6 separate regions of the Homo sapiens genome follow, and all the other regions are linked to region 1. The links are contacts of gene promoters, found by promoter capture Hi-C in blood cells and fetal thymus (Javierre and others, 2016). All regions are on one chromosome and are shown on one strand. Each heading gives the region's core, a stretch centred on a gene start or on the middle of the fragment in contact. The rest is flanking DNA. Distances are from core to core; before and after follow the strand shown.

Region 1 (2,700 bases), core at 13-2,512:
GGGAGGCTCAGGTGAGTGGATCACTTGAGCTCGGAGTTCAACACCAGCCTGGCCAACATGGCAAAACCCCGTCTCTACTAAAAATACAAAAAATATTGGGTGTGGTGGCACACACCTGTAGTCCCAGCTACCTGGGGGGCTGAGGTGGGAAGATCACTTGAGCCCAGGAGGTTGAGGCTGCAGTGAGCTGAGATCACACACCACTACACTCCAGCCTGGGTGACAAAGTGAGACCCTGTCTCAACCCCCGAAAACCAACAATGCCCAGACAATCAAAAAAGTAATTATCTGGGTTATTTACACACTTATTTATCAGCTGGGGCCCAGGTCATTCTGATTTCCTGAGTGCTCTTCAAAGGAATCCAGAAATGAAAATATCAACTAGCAACATTAACGATAAAGCCCATCTCCTGTGGCAACAAGCTTGCTGAGGAACCTGTTTGTTTGTCCTTGGCTGGGGACTCAAGAAGTGAATGTGGAGAAGTGATCTAGCCCAGGGAGTGAAGCTCCAGTTGCAGTGAGGTTCTGGCCTTTCATCTCTTGCTACCATTTGGATCTAAAAACAACAGTTGGTGGTAGTTGGTAGTTGATGAGAAAGGTGGTAGTTGATGAGAAAGTGTAGTCTATAAAAGTCCCCCTTTTTGTATCTCTCTCCTCACCCTCCTTTCCCAAGGTGTTACCCTATACCTTGCCCCCATTGCCTAGATTTTCATTTGTCACTTAGAATATTTCTATGGAAAGGGTAGATAAAGAAGACAGCTGGTGAAGATGGAAGAGAATGGATGGACCTCATTCTGTAAGACCTGGCTTGGGGTGGGGTGCGGGTGGAGGTAGTCGGGTTGACAGAATCTTAATTAGAGCCAGGAGGAATCTCAAATTCTTCACAGATCATTCTGAGGTCAAGAAGTGACATGACTGGGGTGAAATAGTACAGTTAGTGTCAGTGTTGGGGTTTTGTATTGTTTTCTTTCCAGACCCCAGGTCCATATACAGTAAAGACTCTAAATGTCGACTATGTGAAAGGGCTCAGGGAAGGCCAAATATCTATGGAAAAAGGCTGGGTTTGGACTTACAACCCCAACTGTAGCCTAACTGTAGGGGAAGCCATACTGTGGCCGTGGCAACTGAAGACATCCCGTCCCAAACTCTGGAAAGGATGAGGGAGGGGGCTGATGCCTAGGCCTCCGTGGGGAGGAGGTCTGGGCGGTAGGCGGTGGGGTGGGTGGAACCTAGCGTCCAGCTAGGCGGAAGGGCGGAGCTTCAGGTCTCCATGGAGGCGGCTTCTCCTAGCAACTCGACGGGCGTTGAGCGGAGCCGCTGACCTGATGGACGCCGACAGCCTCCTGCTGTCTCTGGAGCTGGCGTCCGGCAGTGGGCAGGGCCTCAGCCCGGACCGTCGGGCCTCGCTGCTCACGTCTCTTATGCTGGTTAAGCGCGACTACCGCTATGATCGGGTTCTCTTCTGGGGCCGCATCCTTGGCCTCGTCGCCGATTACTACATCGCGCAGGGCCTGAGTGAGGACCAGCTCGCACCGCGCAAGACGCTCTATAGGTGAGGAGGCCCCCGGGACGGGCTCCCCAGAGGGTGGCTACCTGGAGGCAGGGCGGGGTGGGCGGGTCGCAGCAATTGAAAGGGGCGGGGCCCATGGGGCCAAGGGAGGTGTGGGCGGGATCTGAGATGAGTGGAATGGGGGAGACCCTGGGGGGCGGGCCTGGGGACGGTCAAGAGGTGGTTGAGGGAAAGGGCGGGGATGGGGATGTCTCGGAATCTGAGGCTAGGGCGGAGCCTGAGAGGGCGGGGCAATGGACGGGCGATGTCCCCCGGAGGGCGGGGCCTTGCGAGAGCTTGTTCTCCGCCTGAGGAGGCCAAGAGAAACTTACATGCGGATGGGTTTATAAGAGAGACAGGGCCAAGAACGCAGGTGAAGCAGTGGGAAGGTTTCTGGAAAATGCGGACCTGGAGAAGAAGCCAGGTTCCAGCCAAGTGCTGGGCCTGGCTCAGTTTGGAGAAGGCTCAGTTTGGAGAAGAGTCAGACGCCAGAGGGAGAGGGTGGTGCTCTTTGATAGAGGTATCTGCTCTGGAGCTGGAGGCGCTTTTGGAAATAGAGAACGAATGCGGAATGGGGAGAGAGCTGGGGAAAATTCCCTGGTCACTACCATACAGGACCATCCAGCTATTTATTTATTTATTTTTGTTTTGAGGCAGAGTCTTGCTCTGTCACCCAGGCTGGAGTGCAGTGTCGCTATCTTGGTTCACTGCAACCTCCGCCTCCCGGATTCAAGCGATTTTCCTGCCTCAGCCTCCCAAATAGCTGGGATTACAGGCACGTGCCACCACACCTGGCTATTTATTTATTATTATTATTATTATTATTTTAGACGGAGTCTCGCTCTGTCGCCCAGGCTGGAGTGCAGTGGCTCGATCTCGGCTCACTGCAAGCTCCGCCTCCTGGGTTCACGCCATTCTCCTCCCTCAGCCTCCCGAGTGGCTGGGACTACAGGCGCCCGCCACCATGCCCGGTTAATTTTTTTTTGTATTTTTAGTAGAGACGGGGTTTCACCGTGTTAGCTAGGATGGTCTCGATCTCCTGACCTCGTGATCCGTCCGCCTCAGCCTCCCAAAGTGCTGGGATCACCCACCGCGCTTGGCAATTATTTATTTATTTATTATTTTTGTAATTTTAATAGAGACAGGGTTTC
Region 2 (2,700 bases), core at 164-2,663, 430 kb after region 1:
TCAGCCTCCTTCTGGACCACAGCAAACCTGTGTGTACCCACCCACTTAGGAGACCCTCTCCTGGGCCCCAGGTCAGAGCAAGACCCAAAGTGGACTAGGGTGGCTCTGCAGAAAAAGCAGGTGCCCTGGGGTGGTGGGAACAGGCCTTTTGAGGTTAGGGAGGTGTGGACTGGCATGAGGGAATTGGAGAGGTGCAAGGAGCTCTGGGATGGGAACTGGTCCCTCTCCTGTCACGTATAATTCCATCCCTCCCAAGGTCATTGCTGTCACCCAAGTTAGGGGCCCAGCCCCCTCCTTTGGTCAGTGAAGTCCCAGGGCAGCCCATTTTAAATACAACGGGGCCTGAAGGCTAACTTCTGGCCTTCCTGCTTCGGGAAATCATTCCAATAACCGGGAAAAAAGGGGGCCCGAGGACAGAGCCCCTGCCGGGCCCCAGGGGGAGTGTCGTCGGCTCCTTTGCGTCGCCGGCCGGCGGCGTGGCGGGGACTCTGGCCGGCAGCCTCCCGCGCCGTCCGGAGCAGCTGACCCGCTGGCGGTGGGCCAGGTCGCGGCGGGGCCTGGAGGCAGCAACGTGCGGCGCGGCATGTCGCGGGCGCCGCGGCAGGGAAATGTGGGGGCGGGCCGGCGCGCCCCCTCCCCCCCGCCTACGCTGGCCCATTCATAAAACCTGCAGGCGCTGCCCGGCCTGGCAGCCTTGGTCTCCTAATTGCAAACTCATTAAGGAGTTTGCATCTCATTTGCATGGAAATCATTTCCTGGCCCTAAACAGAGAAACTTCCCGCCCCTCCACCAGCCCCTCTCTGCCCTGCTTTACCCATGCACAGTCTGGGAGAGGAGAGGGGGCATATCTCTGACCTGCGCCCCTTCCCTGGCCTCACCACCACCCTCCCACTTTAGGAGTTGGGGAAGGGATTGGCAGAACACCCACCCAGCCAGGAGCCCTGCCTGTGCCCCAGGTGAGCCGGCCCTGCCCTAGTGGGTCCAACTGAGGGGAGGTGCCTGCCAAGTCATTTGCCCCCCGGCCTGGCCGTGCCCAGGGAAGGGAGGAGGCGGTCGGCAGTTGGCCCCAGCAGCTGGTTGTACCTGGCAGGAGGTGGGTGAGGCTTTTCGTGCCCAGCCTCACGTACGTGCCCTGCCATAGGCCGTGCCCCCACCCCCACACCCCTCACCCCACAGAACAAGCGCCTAGTGACTGCAGAAACAGACACCCAGTCATGGCACACAAAGGCACCCACACCAGGCCAGCCATCATGGCTGCCCCCCTGGCAGCCACCCTGGAGGGCAGACAGATGCCTTCACAAGCCATTTTGTCTTTCTCCAGCTTGGTGCCAGGACTGGGGGTGGGGGAAAGGGTTTCTCCTGAGACTTCTCTGAGTAAGGGGGCCCACAGAGGGGTTTCCTTATGTACCCCAGCTGTGGCCTCTTGCCCCCTCTCTCCTGTAACCCATGTTTACAGAGGCCTCCAAGTGCTCTACCCTGCATGGGGACCTGCCCAGGCGAGGGGGTCACAGGAGCCTCCAACCCAGGAGGGGAAGTGAGAGATAAAGCCCCTAAGGAAGGGACACCTAAGTGCCTCCCCAACCAGGGTCTGTCCTTCGTGTCCCAAGTGTGTGTAGTGGAGGGAGTGCTCCCCAGTTTCCTGGGGGTTGAGGTGGGGCGGTATTCTAAACCTTTGGAAATGGAATAGAACTACCTAAAGTATATGAAATTAGATACTACTTGGGACACTATGTCTTGGTTCTGTATGTCCTGGGACAGTGTAAAAAGTGATCACAAAATTTTCAACATCACAGTCTAAAATAAAAACCTGCCTCTTGTCTGCCTCCTCAGACATAAACCTGCTTACGCTTCCCATCTGCCCACACTCCCACCTGCTGTATCTGAAGTTTCTCCCTTCCTTTGCTAGGGCATAAAGGGGTGGGCAAGGATGTTCTGGAACACTGACCACACATCCGTCCTGAGTATGGCTGGACTGACCCTACCCTCCCAGCTCCTGGAGCAGTTGGGTTCCAAGTGCCATATGTGTGCGTGGTTCAGGGGTACTGGAAGAAAGTTTTAGAATGCCTATTTATTTTTCATCGAATCCTTTTTTCATTTAGTGTGAGTGTGTTTTACAAGGTAAACTATATAAAAACATACTCATCTGACGGGTGCGTACTCAACAATCTTTTTTATTGCTAAGGGCACATGATCAAAAAAACTTCGGAGGTCACTGGCCTAGACTTCAGGTGGGGCAGCTGTGGGCAGGGGATGGCTTGTCTTGTCCATCTAAGTATCCAGCCTGACACATGACTAGTTCAGAGCCTGGCAGGGAGCAGAGGTCAGGGACACAGTATTGAATGAATGAAGTCCACCCCTAGAACTGACAGATGAGGAAACTGAAATAATTCTGGGGCGGGGAGATTGCTCAGAGGAGGACATGGGCAGGTTGAGAGAGTCTCCCCTCATTGCTGCTATGTCTGCAGCCTGCCCGTGTCCAACACCCAGCACCCACACAAACCTTACTTCTACCCACCCCAGGGAGCACAGCTCCCTCCTCTGCCTACCAGCAGAGTGGCCACCTGTCTTGAGCTTCTTACTGGATCCTGATTAGCAGAGCCAGACAGGGTTGTCACCTGCCATATCCCTCTACGTGGCAGAAAGTCTGTTGCCAGCTTTGTATCCTAGAACTCTCTGGAAGTCAATCTGGTGTAGGAGAAA
Region 3 (2,700 bases), core at 158-2,657, 450 kb after region 1:
TCTTGTTGCCCAGGCTGGAGTGCAATGGTGCGATCTTGGCTCACTGCAACCTCTGCCTCCCGAGTTCAAGCGATTTTCCTGCCTCAGCCTCCTGAGTAGCTGAAACTACAGGCGTGTGCCACCACACCCAGCTAATTTTTGTATTTTTAGTAGAGACAGGTTTTCACCATGTTGGCCAGCTGGTCTCGAACTCCTGATCTCAGGTGACCCACCCTCCTTAGCCTCCCAAAGTGCTAGGATTACAGGAATGAGCTACCACACCCGGCCAAGAAAGTATTTTTACAGACCCCAAGAATGGGGTGTCCAGCTGGGCGTGGTGGCTCATGCCTGTAAAATCCCAGTACTTTGGGAGGCCAAGGTTGGCGGATCACCTGAGGTCAGGAGTTCGAGACCAGCCTGGCCAGCATGGTGAAACCCTGTCTCTACTAAAAATACAAAAAATTAGCTGGGCGTGGTGGGAGGAGCCCGTAATCCCAGCTACTTGGGAGGCTGAGGCAGGAGAATCGCTTGAACCCGAGATGGCGCCATTGCACTCCAATCTGGGTGACGAGAGCGAAACTCCGTCTCAAAAAACAAAAAAAGAATGCAGTGTCCCCAGCCCCAGGCCCCGCCCTGCTTCACCCCACCTCCCTCCACAGTTTGGCCTGGGTCCATGGCTGGAGTCCCTTCCTAGCCTATAGCCCCAGGCCCTGCTGCAGTGACCCCCATCAGCCCAGGGCATTCTGTTCATGCCCCATGACTCTCATGAAGGATGAGAGCAGGGTGCTGGCTTTACAGGAGTTGGGTGAACCTCAGATACTGAGAGTGGACAACACTTACACAGCCCTGACCCGGAAAGGGGACCTGTTTTAAGTGCCTTATTTTGACTCACTTCAACCCTACAAGGTACGTACTATTACATTCCAAGGAGGGGAAACTGATGCACAGGGGACTTGCCCAAGGGATGTGAACCCTGGCAGTCTGGTGCCAGGGTCTGTCCTCCGTACTCCACCTCAAGGTAGTCATTGCTCTCTCTAGACTCTGAGTGTCTCTACCTGCTCTCCTCTCTCCTCTTTGCTTTCACAATGATCCTGCCAGATGCTCTCTTTCCTGCCAGAAGGGAGGGCTACATGTGAAAATCTGGCATCAGAGTCTCAGCCACTCCCTTCTCAGGAACCACCTGCCTGCCTGCCATAGCAGGCGGTGAAGAGCCAGCCCTGACATCAGACAGCTCCTGGAGGCAGGCAGGCCTGTCTGAACCCTCCTCCCTGCTGCAACAGAAATGGCTACCAGCCCCACTGGCCAGGCCTACAGCAGGCTGTGCCTGGCCCCCACTTGACAGGCAGCACTCACCTCTCACCTCTGCTCTGGGGGCCCAGCTGAGGCAGCACCTGCCCAGGATGTCATGGTGCCATAGTTGCACCAGCTCCAGGACCAGGGCAGCTGAACGCCCCTTTGCCCACTAGATGGCACAATGTGCACAGAAATGTGGGTTGACCGCTTGGCCACCCTTTCCACCTGCAGAGGAACTGGATTTCACCACACTCTGCATTTATCTCATTTTTATTCTCATTCCTCATCCTAACCCATAGCCAACCATTTGTATGTGTCCTTGCAAAACAAGTGCATGTATTTTTTAGTTTCACAATTAGTAATATATATATATATATATATATATATATATATAAAAAACACACACACACATTATAGATATATTTCTTAATTGTTTTCGCTCAGCACTGTATTTTTAAACCTCATTCATGTTGCTGTGAGCACATTTAGTTTCTGGTGGGCACCTTCCACATTTATTTACCCACTCTGAGGGCGACAGGCACCCAAGTTCCCTCCAACACCCCAGCAACCCTGCCATGACCGTCCTTGACAGGAACCGTTACGGCTCGGCCTGAAAACCTAAGAAGCGGAATTGCCAGGTTACAGGGCATGCAGCGACTTCATTTGGCACAGTACTGCCAGCCAGCTCTCAACCCACCCAGTTCTTGGAGGGTTCCTGGGGAAAAGACGCCCAGCCTCCTAGGACTAGTCAGCCTAGCACCCCTTCCTGTGGGGAGGGGCCCCAATCCTTTCTGCTTGGGCCCAAGGGAGATGGAGAGCCAGTGGCCTCTGTCAAGAGCGTCTTGCAAAGGTAAGACCTTAAGGTCCTACATCTCCCCTGGGCATTTTTTTTTTTAAGTAAAGGGCAATGGCTGGCCTGTTAAATCCCCCACATCCCTCTCTTCAGGAGCCTTTCTGATTACAAAGCCCATTCTTTTTCTCCCTTCTCCTCCCACAGAACTATCCCAGTTTCCTGCATTTTCCCATTTCTCTTCCTCTGCCCATCCCTTCCATGTGAACACCCTACACTTACTAGCTATGTGTCTGTGGACAAGTTACTTGGACTCTCCCTCTTTGTCTATAATATGGAAATAAGTAATATCATTACTAATAATAGGCACACAGGCATAATCCCTCCCTGGCCTCTGCACACAGCCCTCTCTCTAACTCAATGCTGCCCCACTTCCCACATATATTTAAGTAGCTCAAGCCCCTCCTCCCCCAGGAAGTCATCCCTGATTGAACCAGATACAGTCCCAATGTCCTTAATCCAACTGTCACCTACTAAGAGCTCAAGTGATTATTTTTGGCTGAAATTTGAAATAACAATAATGGCTATGATTGATACGCTGAGCACCTACTATGTGCCAAGAATTCTACGGCCTACTC
Region 4 (2,796 bases), core at 207-2,706, 390 kb after region 1:
TCCAAAAATCAGTCATCTTGCCCTCTTGGCTCAGCCTCATACAGCACATCTGGGATGCGTTTACTAGAAACTTCCCCCGGAGGCCTGAGCCTGGTGCAGAAATTGAGAAGACTGGAAATGAGTAAGACTCATGCCAGGGCACTTAACAGGATCCACCAGTGGCACCTACTTTTCCACAGGAAGCCACACAAGTCAAGAATCCACCATGATTTTGCAAGATGGCTCCAGGGAAAGCCCTCCTGGGTTGTGCCTCAAATGCCCAAAGGGCTCCTCATTCTGCCATGCACCCCACCTCATTCTGAAGGCCTAGCCCTCATTGTGTGTGCACATCCAACCTCCAGGGCCCATCTTGCCTCTTTCTATCCAAGTCCCTGCCTTTAGTGCCTGCCCAGGGTCCTGGATCCCCCAAGGCTGGGACCCGCCTTGCTCTTGCCTTTCTTGTCAGAAGCTGTACTTCTGTCCTTAGCCCCAGTCTGATGGCAGGAGACCCTTCCTGCTGACCAGTCTTCCCACTATATTCCCAGTCTCCCATGGCTGGGAAATAGGGTTGGCTTCAGTTGTCCCTACTGGGATGCACCAAAAGTAGCAGGAAAAGATTCAAGAACCCTTTAATGCTCACAGCTTCGTCAGCATCCAGACGTCGTTCAGTCCCCTGCCTCCAGAGCAGGGTGTCCACCACTCACTCTTGCTGGCCTCCTGTCAATGGCTGACCATGCTCTTCTCACTTTGCCTAAAACTCAGTTTACCCCCACACCTGTCTATATGCTCTATTTTCTCTCCTGATGAAAGAGCGGAGAATGTGTCTATACTCACTCAGGTATACAACACAGTTACAAAACCACCTTCCTTCCTCTTAAATGACTGCATTAATTAAAGGTTTGTAGGCCTGGAAGATGCTAAGGTTCTAGGTCAAGGAATTTCCTCTTCTGTGCTCCTAGAGCTGACAGTTGTAAGGAAAGGAAGGGCAGCTCAGGGAGGACATCTAAAGGGCTCTCTTGTCTCCTGGTTACCTGGCCTCAGCACATCGCCCACACCCTCTGCCACTTCAATCCCTGCCCAGAGGGGACAGAGGGGACACTGGAAAATCCCCTCCCTCCCTCCCTCTAACCCTCTCCTCTCTCCAACAAGCCCTGGGCACAGCAATGTTCACCCAAGAGTGATGCTGAAGTCAGCCAGGTTCCTAAGAAAGGGTCATGGCCAGAGGACTTCGAAACTGCTTCAAGAAATGGAGGGAGGGTGCGGTGACTTCATATGTTTAGGACCAAAGAACAGTCCTAGGGATGCTGGAGGAGATAGGGGGGAGGACGTGGTCACTGCTTTCAGAAGCTGCTGCATGAAGGCTGCATGCTGCAAATGTTAAGAAATAGCCATGCCAGGCTGACATCTTCCTGACCTCCTGCCACCTTCAGGGCTCTCCTTTAGCCTCCCTGTCCTAGTGTAAGAGTAGCCACCTGTGCCTGCATTGAGTCCACTAGCCTGGGAGAGGCCCAAAGTTCTGGATCATGCCTCCCTCAAAAGACTGGGGCTCAAGATAGTCCTGAGGGTGACAGAGGTGCAGGGCTTCCTCAGGGGGCAAGCAGAAGAGTCCTGGTTTTCTTCCAAGGACCCCTGCCCCCTGCTGTTCAGTCCTCTCCAGCCCCCAGGGCTTCTCAACCCCCTGCTCGTCTCCACATACTCTGTCAGCCTTAAGGAGGCTCTTGTGGATCCTCATTCCTTCGGGACAGGAGGCCAACAGCTATGTCCTGAGCCTCAGCTCTTCCCTGGCCATGCCCCCGCCTCACACCTCCAGCCCTGATTTTGTGCCTCTGCTTCCAAGGGAGGAAGATGAACGACGGAGGAAGTTCTGAGCTAAGGAAGGGAGTATTGATGAAAGTTGTGTTGACAAAAGAATGTGTCAAGACTAAGTATGATTCTTTCCAGAAGTACAAGAAAGCCAAATTCTGGGAAACTCAACATAACCTACTATATTAGCATGTAAAATAGATTAATTTTCCCAACATGTTTAATGGGGAGACTCTAAAAGCAGTCCCGTTAAAGTTGACGTCAGCTCTCCCCATAAACTATCACCATTAGTATTTAATATTGTTCTGCAATTACTTGACAATGCAGTTAGATGAAAAATAAAATAAGAGGTATAAATATTGTAAAAAGAAAGCAGTTATTATCATTGGATGATATTACTCTATACTTGGATATTCCAAGAGAATCAGCTAAAGAACTTTTAGTAATATCAGGAATTTATCAAAGTGGCTAGTTTAAAAACAAGATTTCCTAAATACAAGAAATAACTAATAAAAGAATATGGAAAAACATCCCATTAATAAGGTTAACAAAAACCTAACATAAAACACATAGAAAAAATGTGCAGATACATGGAAATAGCTGTAAAAGCTAAATGAGGGACATACACATAGACTTGAATCGATGGAGAAAGACCTTTTCCTTGGATAAAAAGTCAGTAATATTGTAAGCATGTCAGTGTCACCATAATTAAACTATAAATTCAGCATACTTCTGTACAAAATATCAGCTGCTTTTGGGGGATAATTTGACAAAATGATTACATACAAATTCCTCTGGAAAAATAAATATAAATGAATAGAACATTCCTGGAAGGAAAAATAAGTAAACTAACAAGGAAAGAGTAGCACTATAAAACATTTTTCAAAAATAGTATACAGCTACAATAATTAAAATAGTGTGGGACTGGTGCCTGCATACAGATCAATTGGAAAGAATAAAACAATTTTAAATAGGCCCAAATAAACATGAGAATTCAATTCAATAAATTGAGAT
Region 5 (2,863 bases), core at 143-2,642, 410 kb after region 1:
GCATGACCTGCCCCACTGTCGACAGCCAGCTGTGACTCACAACTCCTGAGCCTTTCCTCTTGGCCAGAGATCGTGGAGTAGATATTACAGTAACATTACTAACCACAAGTAGAGGCGGTGACCGTACTTACGCTCAGAGCACCTCCCCCCACCCCTGAGACCAGAGCAATGACCTCACACTCATGTTCGGCAGCAAGCACGGACAGTCCTGCCCGGAGGCAGGGGGATGGCCCACATGGCCCTGGTCTTCCAGAGAAGCCCAGCGTCTGGCCTCTTCCCCTCAGCGCTGGTCACATTCTCCCCACCTTCCCCTCCAAGCAGCCCACCTGGGGTAGGTGCTGAGTCCCCTGCTGCTGCCTCCCCCGGGTGAAAGCAGAGTAAACAGTCCCCCTCTCCCCCGCCTCCCTGGGGAGGGCTGGAGGAAAGAAAGGGAAGTGACAAAAGCTGCCCTATCCCTGTCCTTCCTCACTGCTGGGTCTAGGACACTTATTCTGGGGAAAGTGGCGTCTGAGGATGTGGCTGCAGTGGCCAGTTGCTGGCGCCAGCAGAAATCCCCAAGCCCGTCAGTAGACTCTGTTCAGACGCGTTCGCTGACCATGGCACTGAGTAAGTGCTGAGGAGACACCTGAGGACCCAGGTCACGCCCCTGCCTGCCCTCTCCTCCCAGACAGGCCCCTCCTAGGGCTCAGACCATTCCAGTTCCTCTTGTCAGACCCTGAGAAGGCCCAGGGCATCCACCCCTACAGGGAAGGCTCAACAGGAAAGAAAGAAACACACAGGAACTGGGCTCAGAGCCCAGCTGCGTGCTCTTGGGCAAGTTACTTAACCTCTTTAGGCCTCAATTTCTCAACTATAAAATGGGACTAAGACTAGCTGCCTGTTGAGCTGTTGTGAGATAAGTGAGTGCACTGGCCTGGATCTGCAGACGGTGGACAACAGCCAACGGCAGCCGGATGTGGCATTGTGCTGCTGCCTTTAGCAGCTCCAGGCAGTAACTACTGAGTATCAGGGAAGAACTGAGACCTCAGAGAAGGGAGAGAACCAGGATTGCTTGAGGCAGGGCGTTGGGAAGGCCCCACTTACCCTCTGGCAGTTGCAATCTAAAAGGAACAAAGAGGCTTTGTGGCAGATCCTGTCTCCTAATATCCATTCCTCGTTTATTTCCCAACTTTTAGCCAGACCCCCATGGAATAAAGACTAGACTACCTAGCTTCCCTTGCAGCTAGGTATGGCTAGATGACTGAGTTCTGGCCAATGGAATATAAGTGTGACTTCTAGGAAGCTTCCTTGAAGGGAAGGGGCATGTCCTTCTTCAGGCTTTCTTCTTCCTTCCTGCTGGCTGGGGCTCCAGCAGCCATCTTGGGCAATGAGGTGACCCTGGAAATGGAAACCACACCTAGCAGGTCAGAAAGATAGAAGGAGTCTCTGACCACATCCCAGAAATATTTTACATGAGCAAAAAATTCACTATTTATCTTGTGTAAACCAAAATTTAACTGATACAAGCTTCTCCTCTGGTGAAATAATCTCGACTCATGTGTGGCTGGGCAGAGTAGGATGGATGAGGTGTCTAGAAGAGAAGAGTTACCAGGGGTGTGATGTCCCCATCCAGGAGCACTTCCTCCTACTTGCCCTGTGAGGTCAGGAGGAACCCTGTTGGGAGGACTTGGCTCCAGGAGGATGGATGGATGGATGGATGGATGGATGGATGGATGGATGGATGGATAGATAGATGGATGGAAAGGAGGGAAGAGCCCAGGTAAATGCATGAGATGAGGAGAAATACCTAGAAGGAGGAAATACCCTGGGAAAACACTTCAGATGACAGAGAGCCAGGCTAGGGGTGTGGGGATAGCAGAACAGGATGGCCTACCTGACTCACTGCCCAAGTCGGACTCTCAGTTTTCCCACCTGTGCTTTGGGAATGGGCCTTATCGCCTCACTCAGGGCCAGCGTGAAGTGATTCAAAAACCAAACCAAAACTAAACAGAGAATCAGTGTAGCATTAAATCCGTTGTCAGCCCAGACAAAACCCTTCTCTGTGCCTGGGATTCCTATAAAGTAAGGATACCCGTGGACCCCACCTCACCTGGCTGTTGTGAGTATTCAGCGAAAGGGCTACTGTAATGTGCTCATCACAGTGTCTGGCACAAGGCAAGTGCTCAGTAAGCAGTCAGTGCTATTATTGCTGCTGTTGAAATCCTGCCCTGGGGTGTGAGGAACAAGAAGCTGCCACTTGATTGGTCTGTGGCATGAGTTAGGGAAAGAAACCTGGACTCCTCACTCCAGAATAATATCTCCAGCGCTTTGGGGACCTAAAGGACCAGGTAATGCCTTGGGAGCACCACACCATAAACACACATCAGGATCCTGACGGCATAAGATGGAATGGGGGTAGTAGGGAGACCTGGCAGGGTGGGGGCAGCCAAGGCTTAAATTTTGGTACCACTGCCTGGGACCCCTGGAGGGACAGCTGTCAGGTCAGGCCCTGACCCCCAAGCTCTCCTCCTTGGCCAGGCCAGGTCCACATTTGGTCACAAGAAGCTGGCAAGAGGCCAGACAGGGCCGCAGATGCCATGGAGAGGGCAAACACAGGCCCGACGGAAAGGGGGAAAAAATCGGGCTTGTTCTGCCTGGGCAAGAGCAGGCTCAGGGGTGACATCAACGCCATGATAAGCAGTTAGATGAGTTAATGCCCAGGGATGCTTTTCCTGAAGTTCCCCAGAGAAAGTTGGGGGTTAAATGATGAGTGTGTTGGCAGATTTGTACCCTCAAAAAATTACGAGTGTGACCACTGTTAACAATGAGCAGGGACTTTAAGAGGAGAACTAAGGAGCTGTCATTTCTCTCTGGAGAAGTGAAG
Region 6 (2,795 bases), core at 14-2,513, 370 kb after region 1:
TGACTCACAGCCAGCTGTGGGCACAGAGTGGAGAAAGTGGCCTCCAGCTGAGCTCATGCACTAGCAATTAGCCCTCTACACCTCCTCACCATGGAGAGCCTCCCAGCTTCCACGCACGCACGTCCCAGGCTGCCCTTTCCCAACCGCAGCGTGGCTCTTGTGCTTATTTTAGCCTGATGAAGCCTCTTGAAATGTCAGAGCTGCAACCAACCAAGCTAGGGACCATCCAGTTGAATCCTTTCATTCAACCAGGGAGAAAATGGGGATTCAGAGAGGGAGTGAGAGATGCGCTTCAGGTCACACAGCTAATTGGTTGTGCAGCCAGAAATGAACTGCAGGCTTCCGGAGCCCAGATCCAGCTGTCCTTAACTCTAGGGGGCAATGTGCTTCAGGTAGCCCCTCACCAGACTTCTGGAGCCACTGGAGCCAGCACACATGTGTTTGAATCCTTCTTGGCCACTTGTCAGCTGTGAGACTATGGGCAAGTTACTCAGCATCTCCAGGCTTCTGTTTCTCCACCTGTAAAATGAGGATAACAGAGGCATGTCCCTCCCAGGTTGGTGTGAGGAATGAATGAGTTCATATATCTGAACTGCTAAAAGCAGTGCCAAGCACATAGCACACACTCAAAACACATTAGCTGACATTGTGTAGTCACCAAGACTTGGTCTCTGGTGTGGAAAGTTTAAAAATTCAGTTTTATGTGTTTGTCCATGGGTGAGCAGATTCTGGGACACCAGCCATATAACCAGACTTCTGGAAAACTGGTGGTGCTACTGTGGGGACAGGTGTTGCTGTCAGAAAGATCCACAGTAGACACAGAAACTGCCTTCCACTTTGGCAGTCACCATCTGAGACCCACAGATTGCAGACATCGAGGCAAAGGCAGTTTGGAGATTCTCAGGGCTATTCAAGCTCGGTGAGCCTGAAGAAGTGCCCTTCTGAACTCAAGAACTGGGCCTCTGTTTGTTAATCTGAAAAATAGGGGAAATCATAGCCTTGGGCTCACTGGGTGGTTGCAGGCATTAGATCAGGTGGGACAGTACCTGAAATAATCCTTTCTAGCCTTCCTCCTCCCTCTTTCTTTGTCACGACCCCCATCATCTGCTTGAGGCCAGTTCTCTCGATTCAGAGCTGCCTCCCCACTGGGCCCAGTTGGATAAACACTGACAAATTCTTCCCCTTCCAAGTTCCTCTTTTCCCAGTCACCAAATCTCTGATACCTCACACCAGATGAGTTATGGTCCCAGAACATGTACAAGATTGGGGTGTTCTCATTCCAACCCTGGAGATCCTTGTTGAATGGATGACTCAGTGAATCAACAACTGCAACGATTCCCAGAACTTCCTGAAAACTCACTCTGAGCTCTTAACATTGGGCAACACTCTGGTTTCCCCCAGAGCCCCACCACAAACCACCTCTGAGGAGAGGCGGCTCTGCAGTTGCCTCATCACTCTTTGCTGCCCTTCATCATGCTCATTTACACGAGAACTTTCTCTGCCCTTACTTCTCCACCACCCAGTCTGGACAACCAGGTGTGTTTGCATTCTCCCCTGCAGGAGGGCAACACAACCGTTCTGCTGTCCATAACCACTGCTGGCATGCCTAGTGGTCAGTCTTGAGCCCTCTCCATCTGCCCAAGTCACAACTGTCCCCCTACCCACCCCACCCAACTTCCTATGATTGCCTGCATAGGACAACTGACTCTTCTTGCTTGCTATTCCAGCTCCACTAATAGCCCATGACCCCCTCTTAGCCCCAGCCAGCCCCACCTGTAGAGTCCTGCTACGAGTGAGCCATTCCTCCCCAGGGGCATCACCTACTCGCTGCATTCTGTTCTTCAGGACAGACTGGAGCTCCCCAGACGAGAAGGCCTAAAGGGCTGGGAGCGGTGGCTCACTCCTGTAATCCCAGCATTTTGGAGGCCAAGGCGGGTGGATCACCTGAGGTCAGGAGTTCAAGACCAGCCTGGCCAACATGGCGAAACCCCGTCTCTACCAAAAAAATACAAAAATTAGCCAGGTGTATTGGTGGCGCCTGTAGTCCCAGCTACTCGGGTGGCTGAGGCGGGAGAATTGCTTGAACCCAGGAGGTGGAGGTTGCAGTGAGCCGAGATCACGCCACTGTACTCCAGCCTGGGCGACACAGCGAGACTCCATCTCAAAAAAAAGAAGGCCTGAGCCATTTGAGAGTTCATGCCCCTTTGAAGGCTGGGAATCTGAACACTAGTTCTGCCCTCAGGAGCCAGGATATGGCCTGGGCATCATCTCCAGCTTGGTTCCAGCTTATTCCCCACCATTGGCCCGCTGTCCAGCCCTCTGCATGTTTCTGGGCCACCAGTGGTCCCTACACGCCAACCAGAGGATTCCAAGAGTATCTCACCTGGAAGATCCTAAGGAATCACCCAGTCTAGTGGAGATGGTCTCTAGAGTGTTTGAAAATGTTTTGGAGTCTTTTTCATTGTAATAGTGATTAGAGATGTTCTGGCATTGGGTGCCCCAGGCCGGGCATGCTAGATCCCACAATGGACAAGGCAGTTTGCATAGTGAAGCATTGCACCCCTATTCTCCTTGGAGAAACACCACTTCTAGTCCAAAGTACTTCTTGTACAGTTGTAGAAACTAAGAGCCAGGGAGGATAAGGTACTGGCCCAAGACTAAGCAGCAAATTTGTCTCATAGGTATTCTAATAATGAGGATCCAAGAGTTCTGTTTCTTGGTGATTTCAATGGTATCTAGCCTCAAAATCCACTAGCAGTCACCAAGTTTGGGGCATGATGGGAGAGATGAAGACT

The links. The method cuts DNA at HindIII sites, captures the fragments that hold promoters and counts their contacts. A CHiCAGO score of 5 or more calls a contact.
Region 2: a fragment that was not itself captured here is called in contact with the fragment with the promoter of RSPH9 in region 1 in 17 of 17 cell types (erythroblasts, neutrophils, M0 macrophages and 14 more); the score reaches 17.1 in erythroblasts.
Region 3: a contact is called between a fragment that was not itself captured here and the fragment with the promoter of RSPH9 in region 1, in 10 of 17 cell types (M0 macrophages, M2 macrophages, monocytes and 7 more). The highest score is 9.0, in M0 macrophages.
Region 4: a contact is called between a fragment that was not itself captured here and the fragment with the promoter of RSPH9 in region 1, in 2 of 17 cell types (erythroblasts and monocytes). The highest score is 7.8, in erythroblasts.
Region 5: a fragment that was not itself captured here is called in contact with the fragment with the promoter of RSPH9 in region 1 in 9 of 17 cell types (erythroblasts, endothelial precursors, M1 macrophages and 6 more); the score reaches 9.8 in erythroblasts.
Region 6: a fragment that was not itself captured here is called in contact with the fragment with the promoter of RSPH9 in region 1 in 1 of 17 cell types (erythroblasts); the score reaches 8.0 in erythroblasts.

The regions. Positions count from the first base shown.
Region 1 is chr6:43,643,774-43,646,473 of GRCh38, forward strand. It overlaps RSPH9 (radial spoke head component 9), which reads left to right and starts at 1,263. Exons shown (of 5, transcript NM_152732.5): 1 at 1,263-1,552. The coding sequence starts at 1,326. RefSeq lists a silencer at 682-870. The HindIII fragment of the contact is 7,744 bases long and covers 422-2,700 here.
Region 2 is chr6:44,076,129-44,078,828 of GRCh38, forward strand. No RefSeq gene overlaps it. Among named protein-coding and RNA genes, the nearest start is that of SCIRT, 2.8 kb to the left of the region's middle. The HindIII fragment of the contact is 7,345 bases long and covers 1-2,700 here.
Region 3 is chr6:44,095,452-44,098,151 of GRCh38, forward strand. No RefSeq gene overlaps it. Among named protein-coding and RNA genes, the nearest start is that of SCIRT, 22 kb to the left of the region's middle. RefSeq lists silencers at 1,301-1,595, 1,373-1,542. The HindIII fragment of the contact is 6,139 bases long and covers 1-2,700 here.
Region 4 is chr6:44,029,594-44,032,389 of GRCh38, forward strand. The region is part of intron 1 of SCIRT (stem cell inhibitory RNA transcript); the gene reads right to left. Among named protein-coding and RNA genes, the nearest start is that of LINC03040, 30 kb to the left of the region's middle. The HindIII fragment of the contact is 6,000 bases long and covers 1-2,796 here.
Region 5 is chr6:44,058,616-44,061,478 of GRCh38, forward strand. All of the region lies in intron 1 of SCIRT (stem cell inhibitory RNA transcript), which reads right to left. Among named protein-coding and RNA genes, the nearest start is that of SCIRT, 15 kb to the right of the region's middle. RefSeq lists an enhancer at 1-128 and a silencer at 429-498. The HindIII fragment of the contact is 224 bases long and covers 1,281-1,504 here.
Region 6 is chr6:44,010,938-44,013,732 of GRCh38, forward strand. All of the region lies in intron 1 of SCIRT (stem cell inhibitory RNA transcript), which reads right to left. Among named protein-coding and RNA genes, the nearest start is that of LINC03040, 12 kb to the left of the region's middle. RefSeq lists an enhancer at 1-494. The HindIII fragment of the contact is 3,154 bases long and covers 1-2,795 here.